Regions from separate parts of the Homo sapiens genome. Here region 1 is linked to region 2. Evidence: promoter capture Hi-C in 16 types of primary human blood cells and fetal thymus (Javierre and others, 2016). All regions are on one chromosome and are shown on one strand. The core of a region is centred on a gene start or on the middle of the fragment in contact, and the rest is flanking DNA. Distances in the headings are between cores, read along the strand shown. Region 1 holds the start of PYDC1 (pyrin domain containing 1). Region 2 has its middle 4.7 kb from the start of FUS.

Region 1 (4,831 bases), core at 919-3,418, 41 kb before region 2:
TGACGCACTGTCTCCTGCAGGGATGGGGCAGTGATTGAAGGGATAAAGACTCTTGGCTGGAGACCCCTAGCCTGGCCCCCAGCCCTCAGACATGGCCCTGTGAAGTCCTCACCTCCACCTCCACCAGCTGATGCTCCAGCACAGCCACACTCTTCTCCTTGCGCATGCATGCCTCCTGCAGCTGCAGTTTCTGCTGTGGCAGCTGTGTCTGGGGGTCGAGGCATGGAGAAGTGATGGGGATGCCACCCACCCAAAACCCACACCTCCCATCCTAAACCTGCCCTCTGTGGCTCAACCTCAATGCCAGCTCCTCCTCCAGCCATCTTCCCATCCCCAAACCCACTTACATGCCTCCCAGCCCCAGCCAGTGCTACTCCTGAGGTCCGAATGCTTCCCCTGCCCCTTGTCTATTTTGGTGCGGTTTTTTATTTATTTATTTTGGTGTTTTGTTTTGAGACAGGGTCTCACACTGTTGCCCTGGCTGGAGCAGTGGCATGATCACAGTTAACTACAGCTTCAACTTCCCAGGCTTAATTGACCCTCTCACTTCAGTCTCCCAAGTAGCTGGAACTATAGGCACACACCACCGTGCCCAGCAAATTTTCTGATTTTTTTTTTTTTGAGTTGGAGTCTCGCTCTGTCACCCAGGATGCAGTGCAGTGGCACAATCTCAGCTCACTGCAACCTCCACCTCCTGGGTTCAAGCGATTCTCCTGCCTCAGCCTCCCAAGTAGCTGGGACTAATTTTGGTGCACCACCACGCCTGGCTAATTTTGGTATTTTTAGTAGAGACAGGGTTTCACCATGTTGGCCAGGCTGGTCTCAAACTTCTGACCTCAGGTGATCCACCCACGTCAGCCTCCCGAAGTGCTGGGATTAGACATGAGCCACCACTCCTGGCCATGATTTTTTAAAATATTTTTGTAGAGACAATCTCACTATATTGCCCAGACTGGTCTCCAACTCCTGGCCTCAAGCAATCCTCCCACCTCAGCCTCCCAGCATGCTGGGATTACAGGCATGAACCGCCACACCCCCAGCCCCTTGTCTGTTTTGTTGACCCCTCCCTGGCCTTGCCTTCCCTGATCCCCTCTGCTCAGCAGTCAGCCCCATAGCACAGGTCTTTGCGAGGATGACAAACATCAGTGTGGTTTGGTCTCTCCCACCAGACAGGCAGGCACAGAGCTTGGCACACAACAGACCTCAGGGGGTACATGAAGGATATATGAAAGAAGAAAGGCAACCTACCCCTACTCCTGGGCTTCCTCTCTTACTTAAAAGCAGAACATCAGCCTCAGTCAGCCTGTCAGCCTGACCACCAAGTCAGCCTGCCTGTACACACATGGGCTTGGAGTAGGGGGCAGGAAATTTAATTAAAATGTCCCCTGCTGGCCGGGCGTGGTGGCTCACACCTGTAATCCCAGCACTTTGGGAGGCCAGGGCGGGTGGATCACGAGGTCAGGAGTTCAAGGCCAGCCAGACCAAGATAGTGAAACCCCATTTCTACTAAAAATACAAAAATTACCTGGGCGCTGTGGCAAGTGCCTGTAATCCCAGCTACTCGGGAGGCTGAGGCAGGAGAATCACTTGAACCAGGGAGGCGGAGGTTGCAGTGAGCCAAGAATGTGCCACTGCACTCTAGCCTGGGCGACAGAGCAAGACTGCATTTCAAAAAAAAAAAAAAAAATGTCCCCTGCACAGACCAACCATTCTGTGGTCTAGATCTTACCCAAGACCTCAAATGCAAATATGCAAATATAGGAGAGCTCCCAATACTCCTGCCAAAGCCATTTTTTTTTTTTTTTTTTTTTTTTTTGGAGACAGGATTGCCTAGGCTGGAGTGCAGTGGCAGAATCACAACTCGAACTCCTAGGCTCAAGCAATCCTTTTGCTTCAGCCTCCCGAGTAGCTGGCACTACAAGCATGAGCAACCATGCCAGGCTACAAAGCCACTTCTTTGCTGGGAGGTGCCTGACCATGGAATCAGTTCCATTCCTGCCTCAATGACTTGCAACCTGTTTCCTCCTCTGCAGATTGGGAACAGCAATCCCCACCTCAACAATTTGGCGCCCCCACTCTCCCAGGGGAAACTGGGGGACCCTCTAGGCGGTGTTTGCAGAGTCCCCTCCCAGCAGGAGCCACAGGGTTGAATAGGAGCTGCCAGATCAGTCTCCTTCCCGGGACATCCCCGGGGGCGGCAGCTCCACCTGCTGCAGGAAAGGTAGGACCTGATGGCTCCAGGCCCTCGGAGGCTCAGAGGCGCAGGGCTGAGCCATGGGAACGAAGCGCGAGGCCATCCTGAAGGTGCTGGAGAACCTGACACCGGAGGAGCTCAAGAAGTTCAAGATGAAGCTGGGGACGGTGCCGCTGCGCGAGGGCTTTGAGCGCATCCCGCGGGGCGCGCTCGGGCAGCTAGATATCGTGGACCTCACCGACAAGCTGGTCGCCTCCTACTACGAGGACTACGCAGCCGAGCTCGTCGTGGCCGTGCTGCGCGACATGCGCATGTTGGAGGAGGCCGCACGGCTGCAGCGGGCTGCGTGAGGGCCACTCTGAGCTGGTACGTGATCTCGGGACCCAACCCCGCTTCCTCGCCAAGGACCCACGCGTCAGGTCCCGCCCAGAGCCTTCCTGTTCCCCTCCTTCAGGGTCCCTCCTGGGGTCCTCCCTCAGACCTCCGGCCAGCCCCTCCCGGGGGCGAAGGGCTGGGCTGCCGCGAACCCTGGTGGGCTGCATCTCGCCCCACTGCCCCCTTCCAGGCTCCTGGGCTGCCTGGGCCCTGTTCCGTTTCATGGGTTCTGTGCTTTCTTCGCAGATAAAGACGGGCAAGGTTGGGCGAGGTTGGGTTTTTTTTGTTTGTTTGTTTTTTGTTTTTTTTTTAGCGGCAGCAAGATTTATTGCAAAGAGCAAAAGAACAAAGCTTCCACAGCATGGAAGGGGATCCGAGCGGGTTGCCCTGAGGTTGGGGTCTTAAGCACAGGTGTGCTGGGATGGGAGGGGTCCCGGGAGGAGGCTCCTGCCCTGAGCTAGGAGACCACCAGCTAGGACTGGGCTGAACTGGGCCAGGCAGGACTGAGAGGCTGGGTCCCTGGGAAGTCTGGGGGCCTCGAATACCAACGAAAGGACGGTGGTCTACCCCTTCTAGGAGGCGGGTCAAGGCAAAAGGAGTAATGCAACGCCTGTGAAGCCAGCCCCACGCGCGCACCAGTCGCGTAAGACAACAGCAGTGTCTCCACCTCGGGGACCAAGGACGCCTCCGTGCCTCCAGACCCCGCCTCCTCCAGCCCCTGCACCTGTCATTTATTCTTCCACTGCCCAATAAATATTCATGGCAGACTTTACTGGGGCTGCGCGCACACGTGCCCGCCGGTAGCTATACGTGTGTGCTTTTGCCACACGGATGACACGCACCAGCCAGTGTGCGTTCGTCTCTATTTGCCTCTGTCTGGGTGTCTCTGCTGGGTACTTCGGGACGCGCACAACTGCGTGTGGGCTCCCAAGGCTTTCGGGACTTCCAGCTCCACCCAGAAAAACATCCTGGACGGGGCTCTCGGTGCCACCCTGGGCCCGCACACATAAGTGCAGATCCCGGCTGCCTAGCCCTTACAGTCTCCCTTCTGGTGAGGCCCCGCCTGGGGACCGTCAGGCCAGCCCAAGTTCCGCAGCTTCAGGGGTGCGTGGGCCTCCGCTGAGCACAAGGGGACAACCCTGCCCCGGCCGCCTGGCTCGGTCCCGAACGCCGCGCCTCCAGTCCAAAGTGGGCCAGCGCCGAGCAGGGAGCCAGCCCGAACGGCCCACCGGGTGCAGGAATGCGAGCGTGGGCCGCAGGGGCTGGTCAGTCCCTGCTCCGCCTGGCTCCGCCCGGCCCATCAGACCCGCCCTGGGGCTCCGCCCGCCCATCTCCAGTTTCCTCTAGGGACTAAGGCCGGGAAACCTACGTTTGCTCAGCGCCCTTATCGCCAGGCTCCATCCCTGCGCGGCTTTCCTCTGCCAGCCCCGCCTTAAGCTCCTCAGACCCTCTTTCCTGGCTGCTTCGCCCCGCCCCCGCCCCCCGCAACTCCAGGAGCTCGTGAGCCTCTCTAGAGACTCAGAATCCAAATCACTGCAGCGACCTCCCCATCGGCCCCGTGCCACCGAACAGCCCCTCCGACCACGATGCGCGCGGATCCCGCACCTTGAGGCGTGCGTGGGCCTCGGCGGCAGGCAGGAGGCGATGACCGCGGTGCGAGCCGAGTGAGGCGCACACTCCGCACACCAGCGCGCGGTCCTGCTCGCAGTAGATGCTCAGCGGGTCCAGGTGCTCCTCGCAGTGGCCCTGCGGCACCTGGGCCAGCCCCTCCACCAGGCGCGCCAGCTGCAGGTTGGTGCTGAGTGCCTGCGGCCGCGTGGGGGCCTGGCAGCAGGGGCAGAGAACGGTGCCATCCGCCGCCGGCTCCCCGGCCACGCGGCCTAGGCAGGCGCGGCAGAAACTGTGGCCGCACTCGGCTGTCACGGGCGCGTCGAACAGCTGCAGGCACAGCGGGCAGGACAGCTCCTGGTGCAGGAGGCCGGGCGCAGCCGACATGGCGGGCCTGGGTGGAGGAGGAGTAGGTTAGGGGGACCCCGCGGCGCCGCGCTCCCGGCCCAGCCCTGGCCCAGCCCTAGCCCAGGCCGGGCCCGCCGCCCCGCAGGGAGAAGCCCCAGCCTGTAAAGACCTCACATCCTACACTGGATGGGACTCTGACGGCCAAGGGGAAAGAGGAACTCGGTCTCAGGCCCAAAAGCAGCCTCCACTGCAATTCTCAGCTCCAACCCCAAAAATATGCCCTATCAGTCAACCCCAGTTCCTGAA
Region 2 (4,626 bases), core at 684-3,183:
CGAGACCAGCCTGACCAACATGGTGAAACCCCGTCTCTACTAAAAATACAAACATTAGCCAGGCATAGTGGCGCGCACCTGTAGTCCCAGCTACTCAGGAGGCTGAGGCAGGAGAATTGCTTGAACCCCGGAGGCAGAGGTTGCAGTGAGCCGAGATCGCGCCACTGCACTGCAGCCTGGATGATAGAGTAGAGCAAGACTCTGTCTCTAAAAAAAAAGAAAGACGGAAAGTTATGCTGAAGCTACACAGGAAGTGGCAAAGCTGGGTTCCCAAGCCAGGTAGCCTGCTCTTAACCCCTGCGCTTCAGCAAACATTGCCTGAGCACTGCATAGTATGTTCCAATCATGGGGCCGACTGGATGGATATGGATAAAAAAAAGCTCAGTTCCTAAACCACAGGACCAGCCAGTGGGTGAATGTGGGTGAGACACACAGACCACAAAGTGTACTTGAGTGTAGTAAGTGCCATCACATGGAATCAAAGACTGGAAACCCTGCCAGCAGAGTAAGTCATCCATCAGGTGGACAACCACAGAACACTAAAGAGAGATGGTAACCCTGAAGCCAAGGCTTACTGGATAAGTAGAAGTTTGCCAAGCAGCAAGGGAGGAAAGGCTATAATAGGCAGAACCGCGAAGACAAAGGCACAAGTGGGGAAGACACTGAGGCAGAGTTCAGGCTCCAGCTGTGACTCTGGGCTGGGCATGGTGGCAGATGAGACTCGGCCTCAAAAAAAAAAAAATATGTGACTCTGAAAGACTAAATCAAATGGCCATTTCTTTCTTTCTTTTTTTTTTTTTTTTGAGATGGAGTCTCACTCTGTCACCCAGGCTGGAGTGCAGTGACGTGATCTCAGCTCACTGCAACCTCTGCCTCCCGGGTTCAAGCAATTCTTGTGCTGCAGCCTCCCGAGTAGCTGAGATTACAGGCATGCATCACCATGTCCAGCTAATTTTCCTATTTTTAGTAGAGACGGGGTTTCACCATATTGCCCAGGCTGTTCTCGAACTCCTGATCTCAAGTGATCCACCTGCCTCGAATGTTTTAATTTTTTTAACTAGTTGCCAACACTAAAAATAGTGGGCCATTCCAGGCCCACTTCCATAGGGCAAGGGTCAGCTGGAGTGAGACACTGTCACCTTTAGCTGCCATATGTGCTTTAAGTTCACCATAAATGTCTTATTTACTTCCTATCTCTGACAGGAAAGTCAATGTTAAATTTTTCTTTTTTGAGACAGGGTCTTGCTATGTTGCCCAGGCTGGTCTTGAACTCCTAGGCTCAAGGGAATCCTCCCAAAGTGCTGTGATTAAAGGTGTGACCACCACACCCAGTTTCAATTAACATGTATATCAGATATTGGGCCAGATGCGTTCGCTCACACCTGTAATCCCAGCACTTTGGGAGGCTGAGGTGGGCAGATCATGAGGTCAGGAGTTCGAGACCAGCCTGACCGACCTGGTGAAACCCCATCTCTACTAGAGATACAGAAATTGGCCGGGCATGGTGGCGCGCATCTGTAGTCCCAGCTACTCGGGAGGTTGAGGCAGGAGAATTGCTTGAGCCAGGGAGGCAGAGGTTGCGGTGAGCAGAGATTGTGCCATTGCACTCCAGCCTGGGCGACAGAGCAAGACTCCATCTCAATAAAAAAATAAACACGTATATCAGATATTGATTTTTTTTTGAGACAGAGTCTCACTCTGTCACCCAGGCTGGAGAGCAGTGCTGCAATCTCAGCTGACTGCAACCTCTACTTCCCAGGTTCCAGCAATTCTCCTGCCTCAGCCTCCTGAGTACCTGGGATTACAGATGTGCACCACCACACCCAACTAATTTTTTTAGTAGAGATGAGGTTTCCCTATGTTGGCCAGGCTGGTCTCGAACTCCTGACCTCAAATGATCTGCCTGCCTTGCTTTCCCAAGTGCTGGGATTAGAGGCATGAGCCACTGCACCCAGCTCAGATATCCAGATATTTATTTAGTTAGTTAGTTTTAATTTATTTATTTAATTTTTTTGTTTGTTTTTTTGAGACAGAGTCTCCCTCTGTCACCCAGGCTGGAGTGCAGTGGCACAATCTCAGCTCACTGCAACCTCCGCCTCCGGAGTTTGCAGTTCTCTGCCTCAGCCTCCCGAGTATCTGGGATTACAAGCTCCCACCATTACGCCTGGCTAATTTTTTGTATTTTTAGTAGAAACAGGGTTTCACCATCTTGGCCAGGCTGGTCTTGAATTCCTGACCTCCTGATCCACGCGCCTCGGCCTCCCAAAGTGCTGGGATTACAGGTCTGTGCCATCGTGCCAGGAAGTTACATATATATATATATTTATTTATATTTATATATATTTGTTTGAGATGGAGTCTCGCACTGTTGCCTGGGCTGGAGTGCAATGGCGCGATCTCGGCTCACTGCAATATCTGCCTCCCAGGTTCAAGCGATTCTCCTGCCTCAGCCTCCAAGTAGCTGGGATTACAGGCACCCGCCACCACGCCTGGCTAATTTTTTGTATTTTTTTTTAGTAGAGACGGGGTTTCACTATGTTGGCCAGGCTGGTCTCAAACACCTGACCTCGTGATCCACCCCTCCTCGGCCTCCCAAAGTGCTGTTACAAGCATGAGCCACTGCGCCCAGCCCCAGAATTTATTTTTTAAAGACAAGGTCTCATTTTGTTGGCCAGTTTTGTCTTGAACCCCTGGCCTCAAGCAATCTTCCTGCCTCGGCCTCCCAAAGTGCTAGAGTTACAGTTACAGGCATGAGCCACTGCGCCTGGCCTAGATCAAATATTTAATGCAATTTTTCTTTTTCTTTTCTTTTTTTTTTGAGCAGGGAGAGGTTGGTTTTCACATTTCTAGTGGGAGCCATGGGAGGGTCCTCCTTTGGCAGTGGAGGTGCTCACAATTTCTTCAGCCACTCCAAACTGGGGCCTTGGGGGTCCTGGGGGTGGCTGGGCACATCGGGCATGTTCCCATCATTGCAGACAGGCACTGGGTAGTTGTAGGGCCTTGCCTCGTTGATCATGATGGAGTACTTGGTGTGGGGACTAAGTGGGGGTAGAATTACAGTGAGGCTCCGGATGACAGAGGACAAGACCAGCACTGGCTCCTTGGCCCAGGAAATCTTGAGGAAGGTGCTGAGTCTCGTGGCCTTCTTGGTCTCGGTGGTGATGACAGCGGCCTTTTTTTTTTTTTTTGAGATTGAGTCTTGCTCTGTCACCCAGGCTGGAGTGCAGTGGCGCGATCTCGGCTCACTGCAACCTCCGCCTCCCAGGTTCAAGCAATTCTCCTGCCTCAGGCTCCCGAGTAGCTGGGATTATAGGCACGTGCCCCTACGCCCAACTAATTTTTGTACGTTTAGTAGAGATGGGGTTTCACCATGTTGGCCAGGCTGATCTCGAACTCCTGACCTCATGATCTGCCTGCCTTGGCCTCCCAAGCGCTGGGATTACAGGCGTGAGCCACCATGCCTGGCCTCCTTTTTTTTTTCTTTTGAGTTAGGATCTCAATCTGTCACCCAGGCTGGAGTGCAGTGGTGCAATCAAAGCTCACTGCAGCCTCAAATTCCTGGGTTCAAGCAATCCTCCAAATTTGGCCTTACCAGCATCTGGGACTACAGGCCTGCACCACCATGCCCAGCCTCTATTTGGGTTTTTGTTTTTTTTTTTTTTTTGAGACGTAGTCTCGCTCTATCACCCAGGCTGGAGTGCAGTGGCACGATCTCGGCTCACTGCAAGCTACGCCTCCCGGGTTCAAGCGATTCTCCTGCCTCAGCCTCCAGAGTAGCTGGGACTACAGGCGCCCGCCACCACGCTTAGCTAATTTTTTTGTATTTTTATTTTTAGTAGAGATAGGGTTTCACCATGTTTGTCAGGATGGTCCCAATGTCCTGACCTCGTGATCCACCCGCCTCAGCCTCCCAAATTGCTGGGATTACAGGCGTGAGCCACTGTGCCCGGCCTCTATTTGGGTTTCTAAAAAAGAAAGAGGGCCAGGCTCAGTGGTTCATTCCTGTAATGCCAGCACTTTGGGAGGCCGAGGCAGGAGGATCATTTAATAACATAGTGAGACCCTGTCTCTACAAAAAAATTAAAAATGATCTGGGTTTGGTGGTGTGTGACTGTGGTCCCAGCTACTTGGGAGGCTGAGTCTGGGGCAGGGGGGTGGGGTACTATCCAAGAGGTCAAGGCTGCAGTGAGCTATGACTGTGCCACTGTACTCCAGCCTGAACAGCAGAGTGAGACCCTGTCACAAAAAAAAAAAAGAAAAAAGAAAAAGAGAAGGAGAACAGTTAGGGATATATATATATATGTGTTTACTTATGCATAAAATATCTCTGGAAGAAGAAAAACAAGTCATAGCCTATTTCTGAGGAAGGAATCTGGGGAACTTGGGGTCAAGGATTGAAGGAAATTCACTTTTCCTAGATCCTTTTATATTTTAATTTTTCACTATGTGCATATAATGACCAATTTAAAAGCAAACTGACTCCTACAATGCACCACAGCATGGTAGCTGAGGAGGGTATTATACAGGGTAAGACCTGCCACAGGGGAAGAGTGATTACTTTTGCAGTGAGTAGGGTGGGTCAGCCTTCACTGAGGAGTTGACTTTTTTTTTTTTTGAGATGGAGCC

The links. Contacts are between HindIII fragments. The CHiCAGO score rates a contact against its expected background, and 5 or more counts as called.
Region 1: the fragment with the promoter of PYDC1 here is called in contact with a fragment that was not itself captured in region 2 in 2 of 17 cell types (monocytes and M0 macrophages); the score reaches 6.2 in monocytes.

What each region holds. Positions count from the first base shown.
Region 1 is chr16:31,214,472-31,219,302 of GRCh38, reverse strand. PYDC1 (pyrin domain containing 1) reads left to right here and starts at 2,168. Exons shown (of 2, transcript NM_152901.4): 1 at 2,168-2,560; 2 at 3,146-3,341. The coding sequence starts at 2,275. The coding sequence ends at 2,544. TRIM72 (tripartite motif containing 72) reads right to left here. Exons shown (of 7, transcript NM_001008274.4): 2 at 4,175-4,571; 3 at 113-208; 4 at 1-14. The coding sequence starts at 4,564. RefSeq lists enhancers at 2,033-2,947, 3,863-4,777, 4,778-4,831. The HindIII fragment of the contact is 8,417 bases long and covers 1-2,922 here.
Region 2 is chr16:31,173,089-31,177,714 of GRCh38, reverse strand. It overlaps the pseudogene NDUFA3P6. Among named protein-coding and RNA genes, the nearest start is that of FUS, 4.7 kb to the left of the region's middle. The HindIII fragment of the contact is 8,665 bases long and covers 1-4,626 here.